3 separate regions of the Homo sapiens genome follow, and regions 2 and 3 are each linked to region 1. Evidence: promoter capture Hi-C in 16 types of primary human blood cells and fetal thymus (Javierre and others, 2016). All regions are on one chromosome and are shown on one strand. Each heading gives the region's core, a stretch centred on a gene start or on the middle of the fragment in contact. The rest is flanking DNA. Distances are from core to core; before and after follow the strand shown.

Region 1 (4,348 bases), core at 1,490-3,989:
TGGAGTGCAGTGGCCCAATCTCAACTCACTACAACCTCCGCCTCCTGGGTTCAGGCGATTCTCCTGGCTTAGCCTCTGAGCAGCTGGGATTACAGGCACCTGCTACCACCCCTGGCTAATTTTTGTATTTTTAGTAGAGACAGGGTTTCACCATATTAGCCAGGCTGGGAAATCCTGATCTCAAGTGATCCGCCTCGGTCTCCCAAAGTGCTGGGATTACAGGTGTGAGCCACCATGCCCAGCCCCCTTGGACAGTTTCTTTAACGAAAAGTGAAACAAAAACGTTCCTCCAGGTTCCTTGTAAACTCTGGATAATTCTGAGGTGAATGCAATAACCCAGTAAGAAACTTGTCCAGGATAATTATTTTAAGATCTTCTTTGATAAGTCTGGCTACAGAGTAAAGTTAACATTCTATTATGAAGCAAGGAATAAATCCATCCCTGTATCAATTAAAGGAAGAGAATATCAATGTGAAAGGGGGCATTAGAAACCACGCTTCAAAAGGATTCCCACAGTGACAGAACTTCTCAATGAAACACCACACCCCAAGTAACGGGGGCGGGGTGGTGCACCATAGAATCTGCCCCTAGGAGGCACAGCCACCTCCACACCGAGGGTTTCCAGTTTCCCATTCACATAAAAGAAACAAGTAAGAGATTCTGGGAGGCGCTGGGCTAGGAAGGCATCTACTCACTGTCTCCACCAACAATTCCCTCAGTAAAGCAGCCATTGCCCAATAATGCTTCTATTTATTTTACCCAGAAGCAGATCTATTAGCCAGACATTCTAAAAACACAAACGCTTCGTTGTGCTTGGAGTAACTCCAATATTGATGCCTTGCTGCAGAACGATGCTGCAGGAATATAAAGTGAGCCATGTGCTAGCTGTACCCACTTATGAAGCACACTGTCAGAAACTGTCACATCCTGGAGACCAACCCATCCGAAAGACTGAGAATAAACCCCCTACGAGAACACTGTGGAAGGAGGGAGAAAGCCAAAGATAGGATGAAGCAGGGCCCTCCTAAAGTCTCCGGAACAACGAAGCCAATTTTTAAGGCAACTCTCCCTAAAGCTTTCAGGACCAGAAAGATGTTTCTTTCTCCTCTCCTTGTTCAGACTGAATAAGAAAAGCAAGACAATGCTGGAGGATGTTCTGAAATGGGCTCCGCAAGTCACCACGTGCAAAGCACATTAAACAGAAGCCAGTGCTAGGCCAGGGTTTGGCTCTGAAGATGTTGCCTACTGGAAGGAGAGGGGCCCCCGGGGGTTTCCACGCAGAGACCAGGGCTGGGCGGTCAAACCTGGTAAACTGACAAGGAGAAGAGCCTTAACAACAATATAATGAAACGGCCAGAGGCCACCGGTACTCCCCAGGGCTGGGAGAGACAGGGAGGCCGAGGCTGCTAAACTGTTCCAGATGACAAGCAGGCTCTCCCACGTCTCCACGAACTGATCAGATACCAGGGCCTCGCTTCTTTGTGAGCCTCAGCTCCCTCCTTTCTGGGGAACCCTACTCGATCCCCAACAGCCGCTGGCCTCCAGCTGCCACAAACGAGATCCAGACTCATTACAGGGAATTCGTATTTCCCCCCCTCAAATAAAACACACACACACACACACACACACAGAGTCTCCGGGGTCCAGCCGGATCACACAGCTAAAGTTTCCGGAACTTGAATCGTAAAACCACAATCAGAAGTTGTTTGGAAATACTCGCCGCAAAGCAATCTGTCCTTTGCTTTAAAAAATAAAAAATAAAAAAAACTTTGCCCTGCATAAAGGCAGACAGTAAAGAGAGACACAAATCTAACTTGGGCAGAGGGTGTGTTCCTCTTTGTCACCCGCCGGGAACCCTCGCGCCGCGCGTGGGCGAGCGGCGGGCACCCGGCGGCATCCGCGCCAGCGGCCACCTCCCCGGCCCGCAACCGGCCTCAGGGGCCGAGATTGCGGCCCGAGGTCCGGAAGCGGCGTCCAGCGCTGTCAGCGGGCGGGTAGGACGGAAGGAAACGGGGGAAGGGCGCCGGGGTCGGGGGAGGCGAGCGGGGACCGGCGCGGAGCCCCGCAGCCCGACGTCGGCGGAGGTGAGGGGAGAGGGGCGCAGGGGGCAGCCCGGAGCCCCGAGGCCCCCGAGCTCCTGCGATGGTGGCCGGGGCTGCCCGGGCCCGACCCGCCGCCCGACTGCGCAGGGCAGGACCTCGGGGACCACGCGCCCACCTTCGCCCGCAGCCGCGGCCGTGCGCTGCGGGAGCCTGGACTCGCACAAGTTGCCGCCCGCGGCCCGGACCCCGCCGGCCCCCGCCCTCCCGCCGCGGTCATTGTTCACCGCGCGCCTCCTACCTCCACAGCGCCGGCGGCTGCGGCGGCTCCCTCTCCCGGCTCGGGCTCCGGGATCGGCGGCTCCCAAGCCCCCGGCGGCCGAGGGCGCGGCGGCGCCGGCTATTAATACCCGCGGGCGGCGGCGGCGCGGGCGCGCGAGCAGGGCTGGCGGTGGCCGGCTGAGGTCCGAGCCATCAAAGGTGGCGCGGGGCGGAGGGGAGGGCGGAGCAGGCGGGGTGGGTGGGGAGCGGGCTCCGGGTCGCCATGGCCGCCTCGACGCCGGGGCCAGCGCTACTCGCGCAGGGAGGAGCGGCGCAAAGCGGGCAGCGGCCGCGTCCCCGCCCCGCGCCCCAGCCGAGCGCCCGCACCGCTGCGCCCGCGCCGGACCCGCCGCCTCTGAGGCCGGCGAGCGGGAAGTGCAGTGGCCACCGCCCCTCCCCGGGTCTGGGCCGGCCCCTCGGCGGGGGGAGGCGGGCGCCGCGCAGCCCGAGCAGCGGGGACGCGGGAGAGCCACAGCCCCCTCCAGCGTCCGGGCCCGCGCCCTGCGCCCGCCCCGCCCCGCTCCGCTCCGCCCGGGCAGGTGCGCCCAGGGGCCTCCCGAGCCCAGCGCGCCGCCGGGGATCTGCGCCTCTCTTGGGCTTCCGGCCAGGGCCGGGCTCCGCGCGGCGCTACCTAATGCAGCGCGGGGAGCGCCACTGGCGAGACGCGAATCCAGCAGCTGTGGCGAAAAACGAACCGGGGAGAGCGGGAGACGTGTGCACGGCGAAGCCGGGAGCGGCAGGCGGGCGGTCAGGGGCTCGGACTCTGCAGGTCGCTTTTTGAGGTCCTGCCTGGGGCTGCTTCGCCTGCGACGTCGCGCGGGGAGGACAGTCTTCAGGGACCCACCGAGCCCTCCCCTCCCCCGGAGCCACAGGCACGGGCTTCCGGCACCACCCCGGGCTGCGCGGGACTTAAGCTTGGGGGAGCGGCGGCCACCCCGCGCCCGCCCACGTCCTGGCCCAGCGCCCTCCGCCCGAGCGAATCCCATGACAGTTCCCGCCCGCCCAGCCTCGGGGGACAGTGCCCTTGGGGAATGGCGTGGGGGAGGTTAGGAGTGGCTTGCGGTGCTTGAGAGCCTTCGGGGTTTCGGGAACTCTACGGAGCGGGGAGCAAGATTCAGGACCCAGGAGGCAGCGATCTAGGGGCACAGTCACCGTCCCCACCCAGCAGCTGCCGCGTTACCTTCTCTTCCCCCTTCTGAGCCTCCAGTCCCTCTCTCTAAGCGTGGCGGGAAGAGGCCTAGGGCGCAGCAAGTGACGTTCTGCCAGACCCGGGGCTAGCGGATTCCGGCCTTCGGAGGCCACTGGCTCAGAACCGTGGGCCTTTTGCGTCTTACAGGAGTTCCCTGACCTCAGACCGAGAGGGCAGATTTCACGGGAGAGGCCTCAAGTGAACTCACAGCTGGACAGGAGCTGGGCAGAAGTGGAGTGTAGGGACCCTGATAGAAGGGCGGGTTGAGACAAGAACAGGGGTCTTGGAAGTAGGGGGTGCTTGTGGGCAGCTCCTGGGGAGGAGCAGAGATGTAATACTTGCAGATTTGGTGGTCTGTGGTTGAAGAGAAGAAATGGTGGGTTTGAGGCTTTGCTCTGTCAGCCCAACCAGCTGTGTGTCACAGATCAGATTTTTTTCTGCTCGTGATTCTCTAAGTGTGGTTCTCAGACCACGACCACCACCAGCAGCCCCTGGAAACGTCAAGAAATGAACATTCTTGGGCCGCATCCCCGACCTACCTAATGAAACCTTAGCAAGCATCTGAATCGCCTGCAGGGATAAAGGACTGTCAGGCTCCATCCCCAGAGCTGCCGATTCAGTAGGTTTGGGGTGGGGCCTGAGAGTTTGCATTTCTAACAAATTCCCAGATAGTGATGTTGCTCTGGTCCTGGGATCACACTTGGAGGATCACAGTGTTAGGACAGTGGGTCTCAAACTCATGGAATCATCTGCGATTAAAAAACAACACCCTGGTTGCACCCCAGCCAAATATATAAAG
Region 2 (4,355 bases), core at 913-3,412, 210 kb before region 1:
CAGTGAAAACTATACTGTGAGATATAAAATGTTATGCTCTCTGGATGACTGTAACAGCAGATCAGCATTCCCGAAGAAAATATTACTAAACTTGAAGACCTAACAATAGAAATAATCCAAAATGAAACACACACAAAATTTAAAAAGCAACAAAACTGTAGAACACTTTAAGCAGCCTAATGTACAGTAAGTCCTCACCATTGTCAATACATTCTCAGAAAACTGCTACTATAAGCAAAAGGAAGGATAACAACAAAGGATATAAAATGAAGTCATCAAAAAATTTCAATTGAAAGGAAGGCAGATAAAAGGAACAAAAGATGATGGCTAGACAAAAAGAAAACAAACAGCAAGGTGTTCAATTTAAACTATATCAATAATCACATTAAATGTAAATGGTCTAACCCCTCCACCCCCCATTAAAAGGCAAGGATTGTTAGTCTGGATTAAAAAAGAAAAAAGCAAGTATATGCTGCCTACAAAAATACACTGCTAATGTAAAGACACAAATAAGTTAAACAAAAAAGGGTGAAAGTACACCATACTAAAAAATAATAATTTAAAAACTGAAGTGGCTATATTAGTGTTGGGCAATGCAGATGTCAGAATAAAGAATATTGCTGGGGATTTAAAAAAGGGTAATTTCTTGGCCGGGCTCAGTGGCTCATGCCTAATCCCAGCACTTTGGGAGGCTGAGGCAGGTGGATTACCTGAGGTCAGGAGTTCGCGACCAGCCTGGCCAACATGGTGAAACTCTGTCTCTACTAAAAATACAAAAATTAGCCGGGCGTGGTGGCGGGCACCTATAGTCCCAGTTAGGAGGCTGAGGCAGGAGAATCACTGGAACCTGGAAGGCAGAGGTTGCAGTGAGCTGAGATTGTGCCACTACACTCTAGCCTGGGCAACAGAGCGAGGCTGTCTCAAAAATAAATAAATAAATAAATAAATAAATAAATAAAATTTTAAAAGGGTAATTTCTTAATGATAATGGAGTCACTTAGTCAAGAGCACGAAACAATCTTAAATATTTATACACTTAATAACAATTTTAAAATACATGATTAGGAAACTGATGAGACTGCAAGGAGAAACAGTCATGCACCGCATAGTGACATTTCAGTCAAGAACAGGCGCATAATACGTCAGTGGTATATATCATAATCCTGTATTTTTTACTGTACCTTTTTTAGTTTAGAAACACAAATACTTACCATTATAATTGCCTATTGTATTCAGTTCAGTAATATGCTATAGAGACAACCGTACTTACACCACCTGTTTGTGTAAGTACACTCTGTGATGTCCGCACAATGAAATTGCCTAAAAACACATTTCTCAGAACATATAGCCATCGTTAAGTGACGCATGACTGTAGAAAAATCAACAATTATAATTACAGAGATTTTTAATATTTATTTCTCAATATTAGTATGTAGGCAGAAAATAAATAATAGATTTGAACAACGTAACCTCATTGAAATATATTGAATATCCTACCCAACACAGAACATACAGTCTTTTCCAAGTGCATGTAAAACACTTGCCAACATAAGACATATTCGGGACCATAAAACAAGTATCAGTAAATTACTTTAAAAGCTTCATGTCATATGAACTATGATTTCTGACCACTATGGAATTCAATAATAAAGCAACAATTGAAGAATTTGTGAAAAATCTCCCATAGATTTAGAAATGAAATACCATACTTTTAAATAAAGAAGAAACCAAGGGGAAATGGGAAAGTATTGAAAATGAAAACACAATTTGTGGATGCCACAAAGAAATCAACCTTTGTGGGATGCCACAAAAAAACCCTATTAATTTTAAAAATAATCTATTACAATTTAAACATATGTAATCTAGAAAATTAGATAATTCAAATACGGAAAATTTTTAAAAATATGTTTTTCACCATTAGGAGATCATCATTAACACTTTAGGGAAGTGGTTCTCAAAGTTGAGCATGTATTAAAATTGCCCTAAGTAAGGGCTTGTTGAAACGTACACCACTGGGCCCTGTTCCCAGAGTTCCTAATCTGGGATGCGGCCCTGAGAATGTGCATTCCTAGCCAGTTCTCAGGTGATGTGGATGCTGCTTGTTGGTCTGTGGACCATGCTTTAAGAACCACTGCCTTAGTACATACATTTCCATATCTCTCATTATATGTGATGTGTATGAATATAAACATTCATATACTTTTTAAAAACCAAAATGAGATTTTTTATTTTTTTGAGACAGGGTCTTATTCTGTCACCCAGGCTGGAGTACAGTGGCTCGATCTTGGCTCAATGAAACCTCTACCTTCTGGGTTCAAGTGATCCTCTTGCCTCAGCCCCCTCAAGTAGCTAGGACTACAGGTGTGAGCCACCATGCCTGGCTAGTTTTTGTATTTTTTGTAGAGGGGTTTCACCATGTTTCTCAGGCTGGTCTTACACTCCTGAGCTCAAGTGATCCACATGCCTCAGCCACCCAAAGCGCTAGGATTACAGGCATGAGACATCTTGCCTGGTCACCAAAATAAAATTTTAAAAATGGTTTCATATTTTATCTAACCCCATCTGTGCAGAATATTACCAATTAAATATGTAATCAGTATAAAAACATGATTAATGAGATATTTTGCTTTCTTTGCTACTCTTTGGAATTCCACACCTATTTCATACTTAGATTACATTTCAATTTGCACTAGCTATGTTTCAAGTGCTTATTACCTAAAGCTTAAGAACTTTGGATAAATGAAAATATAATTTTGTCTAAGACTTCTTTCCCTCTACATAATGTAGTATACCATAGTCTGTTTAACAATTCTTCTCTTGATGGCACATGTGCGATTTCCAGTTTGGAGTTATGAATAAAACTGCAAAGAATATTTTTATACTTATTTTTATGGACATAAGCTTTCATTTCTCTTACGTAAATACTTAGGAGTAGAACTGCTGTGTCAAAAAAATTAGTGTATATTTAGTTTAATAAGAATCCTACCAGACTCTTTTCAAAATTGTTTTATCAGCTACTTCTTTTTTCAAAGATTTGTACCTCTCCATTTTGTAAACTTTCCTCTCATCAAATACTCAGGCAATATTCAAATTCCTCCAATTAACTAAAGAACGTCCTTATTGGTGATCTGTCAAAACTAACGTCCAAACCAAGACCATGTTTCATATCTGGTTATGTCCTCTAAGTCTCTTTTCATCTATCCTACTACCTCTCCCTACCTTCCCTTTTTGACAACACTAATCTGGTGAAGGGAATCTGTGTTTAATAAAATTTGAACTGAAAATCGTAGAATATGGTTTTACGTATTTACCAAAAAAGCTTTAAATGAAAAAGAAATTAAAGACAGATCTGCAAACCAAACTACAAAATCAAATGTAGTACAGGCTATCCCTATGCACTTGTGTACTGAACTCATTAAGTAGGAGTTGGTATTAGAGATATATGTGAAGGGAAGCTTTGGAATCAAACCAAGACAATATTACAATGCAATGTGTGGGGTTTCAGGGAGCCTGGACTTGGAGGGAAGCTTTAATATCTACAATCTTTACTTCTTAACCAGGATTCAGCAGACCTCAGGCATGGTCCTTGCAAAACATCAATTACTCAGTTTAAACTATTTTTAAATCATTTGTTTAATTTTCATTAGCTTCGAATGACTCATTTCAAAAGATTTCACATGGGTGTTATGGTTAATTGAACTCTTAAAAATTGTGGTAAGAAGAGTTAACATGAGATCTACCCTCTCAAAATTTTAAGCATGCAACACAGTGTTAACTATAGATAAAATGCTATACAACCCTTTAAACTATCATTTGCTTATTCTGCTGTATACCTTTTTCCTTTTCAACCTTTAAAAAATATTTAATATTAAAATAAACAGATGCTTAAAACTACAAAAAGCAGGCCGGGTGTGGTGGCTCATGCCTATAATCCTAGCACTTTGGGAGGCCGAGGCAGGTGGATCACCTGAGGTCAGGAGTTCGAGACCAGCCTGACCAACATGGAGAAACCCCATCTCTACTAAAAATACAAAATTAGCTGGGCATGGTTGCACATGCCTGTGATCCTAGCTACTCGGGAGGCTGAGACAGGAGGATCACTTGAACCTGGGAGGCGGAGGTTGCAGTGAGCCGAGATTGCACCATTCCACTCCAGCCTGGGCAACAAGAGTGAAACTCTGTTTCAAAAAGTAATAATAATAATACTGCACAAAGCAAATGTACAGCTTAGTGAATTATTAGATGGTAAACACCCTTGTATCTATCAACCAAGTCAAGAAATCAAACTCTGCTGGTCAACTCCTTCCAAACTGAACTCCCGCCCTCTACAGGTAACCACTATGCAGAGTTTCATC
Region 3 (4,639 bases), core at 1,620-4,119, 250 kb before region 1:
GCCTCCAGAGCAATTCTACACACTCTTTTGGGATGCAGTAATATGCATACAGAAAGGAGCCTAAATGTGGCAGCTGCCTCTGGGGAGGGGAGAAGGGAAATTACCAGAGCTGGTGGTTCAAGGGGGTTTTACCATGTCTGTAACGAGAGCTGCAAATAAAAGAAGAAAAAACAACCCCAGAAACAAATGTGTCCAACTGTTAATGGCCGTTAATTCTAAGTAGTAGGAATCTGGGTGTTTGCTGACTTCCCTGTACTTTATTGTAATTTTTAAATGTATGAAAATGAAAAAAGTTTTTTAAAAACGCTACATGCAGTAACTAGTTCTTGAGGCCTATCCTCCGCTCCTTTACCCTCCTTGGGTTCTGCTGCTCCTCCTTGGAGCATTGGGCTTGGGAGCTGGCTGGCTGGCCAGAAACTGCTTAGCAGCTATGAGACCTGGACTAGTTATTTAACCTACTGGGGACTCAGTATCTCCATCTTTATAAAGGGAATAAAAGAGCACTGACCTCACAGAGCTGAGGTGAAGACTCAATGAGTTCACTCAGGCCCAGTGCTCGGAACAGCCTGGCACACACTAAGGGCTACAAGTGTTTGATAACACCAACAACAATAATAATAATAAATCCTGTTTCTGGCTGGGCATGGTGACTCTTGCCTGTAATCCCAGCACTTTGGGAGGCCAAGGCGGGAAGATGGCTTGAGCCCAGGAGTTTGAGACCAGCCCTGGCAACATAGGCAGACCCCATCTCTACAAAAATTTAGCTGGGAGTGGTGGTGGGCACCTGTGGTCCCAGCTACTCAGGAGGCTGAGGTGGGAGGATTGATCGAGTCCCAGAGGCTGAGGCTGCAGTGGGCTGTGATCACACCACTGCACTCCAGCCTGGGCAACAGAGCAAGACCCTGTTTTGAGAAAGAAAAAATCCTGTTTCTGCTCATCCAGATTTACTTGATTTAATTAAAATGTTCATAGACATGCTTTCAATACAAATCCCAAAATATTGAAGGACTCACCAGTGAGCTAGTTTTTATCATGCTTCATCCCCCACTGTGATGTCCTAAGCCCTTCTCTCCTTCCCCAGTATGTCCTCTCCCGCCTCCCCTAGTCCTTTCTGTCTGTTCTCATCTCACTCTCGAGGGTGTGCCCCTGGGCTCTAAAACCTTCCTCTCTAACACTGGACTTGCTGAGGATGACTGAGACTATCATTTACAACTCAAGGGACATCAAGTCTGAAGTCTGGGTAAAGAAATATTTAGCAGCAACAAACTGTTACCTGGCGAGTCTGAGCCTTCTCAGACTGGAAGTAGCATTGAAGCTTCTCTTACCTTTCAAACTGCACCTTCTTATGTCCTCCTTCTTTAACATAGTCGAGAACCTGCTTCTGAGTCCGACCACTGAAACAGAGACCACAACAGGGAAGGGGAGAAATACCAAGGCATTCTCATTTAAACACACAAATGATGCTTCAGGGCTTCACTTCCCCTCCTTCCCTAACTGGGAGAGATGCAGGGTTGCTTGGCTAGCCAGGACTAAAAGCAATCCTGACAGACTCTGTATTTTTGGGTCCACTCAGTCTCTTGATATTTTCCTTGAATATACAGAAAAAATGTTCAATTAACTAAGCCCACTTGATAACTGTGTTTGGTTACTAAGCAACCATCCCAAGAGCCTGTGCCTTTAGTGAAGGCAGGGATCACTGGGCTCAGTGCCTGGAACAGTATTTGACACATGGCAGACAATGATTTGTTAAAAATGAATGGAAAAGTTCACCAATAACATCCAAGTCCACATATTCTATGAAGCAACACCAAATGTTAGTAAGACACTGTACTTCTACTGAGAGAGAAATCCTTTCTGAGTTAGAGACTCCCGCTAGGCGTTTACCATGACTGGGTGGCTTTGCCTGGTGCCTCTGCTGTTCAAACAGAGCCCACTGGGATTAAGATACAAGCGCCCCCGCTTGGCCATAGCTCCTGGAGGCCAATGAGCGTTCACCTCCCTGACCTGCTGTGTGTCACAGCGGCTGTGAGAGGCGGGAGGAAAAACGTGCACCCAGCAAACAGAGGCACAAAGTGGCGACCTCACCTGAACCGAAATGATGACCCCCGGCTAAAGAGGACGGGCTTGGGCTTTGGTTTGGGCTCTTCAAAAAGTCTAAAGAAGGCATGATGTTCAACACAGATTTTCCAGAAGGACTTGCAGAAATCCCGACTGGCCATCAGGAATTCCAAGGTATCCTGGTACGCACTCTAAAAAGGGAAAATACAACGGTGGTTTTTTCCATTACCCATAGATACACCACTGAAATAGGAGAAAAGGGGCAGAAGATAGCTTTGTCCGATAAAGTTTTCGCTGTGTATTTTATTATAGCATGACCATCAGTGCAAAGACTTACTAAACTCTAGTTATTCTTAAGGACAAGATGTGGTCCCTAGTCCATCATTTTCTTCCCCACAGAATCTCTTAGACGGGTAACAGAAACAGCCACGTGGCTTCAATGGAAGTGACACCATTTTTTGACAGATTTCATATACAAATTATGTTTATTTGGCTTACATTTCCTTGAAAAACAAAACCCAGATACTGAAAGTCCCTTCCTGCCTCCTTAAAATCACTGAAACGCAACGTTCATCCTCTTCCTCATACTTCGTGTCAATGTTGGCTCTTACGTCGTTTCTCTGTGAAGTCGCCCACGGCTCCGGGCTCCAGGCCACCCCAGGAACTACACAGGAAATGAATTTTTTTTTCTGGAGCACAAAGTGTCACTCTTGGCTGAAAAAAATCATGCCCTTTGATTCTGGAAAGGGGATATAGAAATTTTCTGCTCCCAATTGAAGTGGCCATATTATATAAACAAAAGTTACTACTGTCCTTAGCATTCCCAGCAGTTCTAACTATTTTGGGGGATCTCACAGTTTTGGGTGGACCCAACTTACAAACAAGCTGTGCTGCAGTTCTTTATCTATAAGGCAGCTTTTTGGAACTCCAGTGAATTTTTCCATGGAAAACCATTTAAAATGGGTATATGCTTCCCAGGTCGGGCCATGAAAACCTACTGAACCCAGACTGTAGCTACACTATAAGCCTAATTGCCATTTATCATCTTCTTTGCCATGGGAAAAAGAACTCTACACGCTGGTTGGGGACAGACGCCCAGGACACATCACCCACCTCCTCCGTCGCCATTTCTGGCAGACAAAGAAGAGGCTTCTCCTCCCTTCCCGTCCCAGTCCTGGCGTGGGCCACAGTGTTAGGCGTGTTGTGGGAAGTAAGTGGGGAAGGGAACCTAATTAGCCCATGAAAATGAGTTCCACTGGGGGCTCAGGGCCTCCAGCAGGGATTGGGGAAGTCAGTCTATGCCTGGGGTAGGGCAGGATACTGAATGGGGTCTCCAGGTGTAGCCTGGGGCTGGATGCACAGCAATAGCACAGCTCAGGTTGTTTATCAGGAGGGGCTGCCTGAATCTGCGCAGGGAAATGACCCTCTCCCCAGGTACATGTTCATGTACCTCCTTTACGCTCTCTGTTTACCAACGATGACAGCCGTAGAGTTACCGACCATTTGGATACATCTGTCCTAGAGACGCTCGGCGTTCATGTGGACAAAAGCACCTGGGTAGCACTGGCCAGAGGTTCAGCAGAAGCCCTGCCAAGCAGACCTCCACCCCTTGCAGGACACACGCCATCCCATGGCTCAACGGGTCCCCTTTCCCGCCAGGACCACTTACATTGGCATCTGGCCGGAGCTTGATGAGAAAGCGCTTCCTCTTGAAGCTCAGCTTCCGCACCTTGGCCCAGTTGAAGGCATTGATCTTAGTGAAACCCTAAAAAGAAAGACAGTAGCAGTGAGCCAGGAAATGCATAACAAGCAACTTGGGAGTTGGTCTGTTTTGCTTATGGGAGCTAAAGGAAGAGGGCTGGCAGGCGACTGCTCAGTAGAGATGACTTTTGCAGAGAACTCACAGGATCTGTGGCTATCGGATGATACCTGTTCCTGGATCATTATTTCTCACTAATTATAGGATTTTGGCATACAAACTAAGTCTGCCTCTAGGGAGAGAAGAAACTAGCCAAGATAATGATGAAAAGAAAGATAAATAGAAATAAAAACCATGACAACCACCACAATCATTAGCTGCCAGGACTTAGGAAGCGCCAGGTACCATCCTGAGGGCTTTATATACTGTATCTTAACAACCCTGATATGATAAAACCCAGCAAGATGGACTTACTATTTTCATTTTATACACATGGAAACTGCAACGTGGATTTATTTTAATTTGCTGCAAATGACACGTTTAATGTGGCAGAAAGAGACTTCCAAGCACACGCCTTCCTGGCAGCTATGGTTAACATTCAGCAGGTTTGCAATCAACTCCCTGCTTCATCCACGCTGGTCTGGCTCCTGGGCCCATCAAGCTTCCAACAGCACCGGTAGAACTGAGGATGGGAGGCCAGGCCTGCTGTGTGTCTTCAAGGCCAGCACAGTCTCTGGGCCGGATTCACATGTCTTCATTGTCTTTGGCAGCCAGGGAGTCATTGTCTCCATCCAAGGTGGAGAAACAACGGGGAGCTGCCGGATACCAACTCCCATCTGCCCAGTCTCAGCTGAAATTAGAATTCCTCTGGAGCCCACTGGA

The links. Contacts are between HindIII fragments. The CHiCAGO score rates a contact against its expected background, and 5 or more counts as called.
Region 2: a fragment that was not itself captured here is called in contact with the fragment with the promoter of FARP1 in region 1 in 1 of 17 cell types (endothelial precursors); the score reaches 5.9 in endothelial precursors.
Region 3: a contact is called between a fragment that was not itself captured here and the fragment with the promoter of FARP1 in region 1, in 1 of 17 cell types (endothelial precursors). The highest score is 5.4, in endothelial precursors.

Annotation. Positions count from the first base shown.
Region 1 is chr13:98,141,485-98,145,832 of GRCh38, reverse strand. FARP1 (FERM, ARH/RhoGEF and pleckstrin domain protein 1) reads right to left here and starts at 2,739. Exons shown (of 27, transcript NM_005766.4): 1 at 2,341-2,739. It overlaps LOC105370328 (a long non-coding RNA gene), which reads left to right and starts at 1,923. Exons shown (of 3, transcript XR_931670.4): 1 at 1,923-1,994. RefSeq lists silencers at 2,689-2,998, 3,239-3,288. The HindIII fragment of the contact is 2,199 bases long and covers 1,078-3,276 here.
Region 2 is chr13:98,353,226-98,357,580 of GRCh38, reverse strand. All of the region lies in intron 3 of FARP1 (FERM, ARH/RhoGEF and pleckstrin domain protein 1), which reads right to left. Among named protein-coding and RNA genes, the nearest start is that of FARP1-AS1, 80 kb to the left of the region's middle. The HindIII fragment of the contact is 1,122 bases long and covers 1,602-2,723 here.
Region 3 is chr13:98,387,567-98,392,205 of GRCh38, reverse strand. It overlaps FARP1 (FERM, ARH/RhoGEF and pleckstrin domain protein 1), which reads right to left. Exons shown (of 27, transcript NM_005766.4): 9 at 3,728-3,823; 10 at 2,086-2,249; 11 at 1,326-1,394. Among named protein-coding and RNA genes, the nearest start is that of FARP1-AS1, 46 kb to the left of the region's middle. The HindIII fragment of the contact is 3,103 bases long and covers 1,318-4,420 here.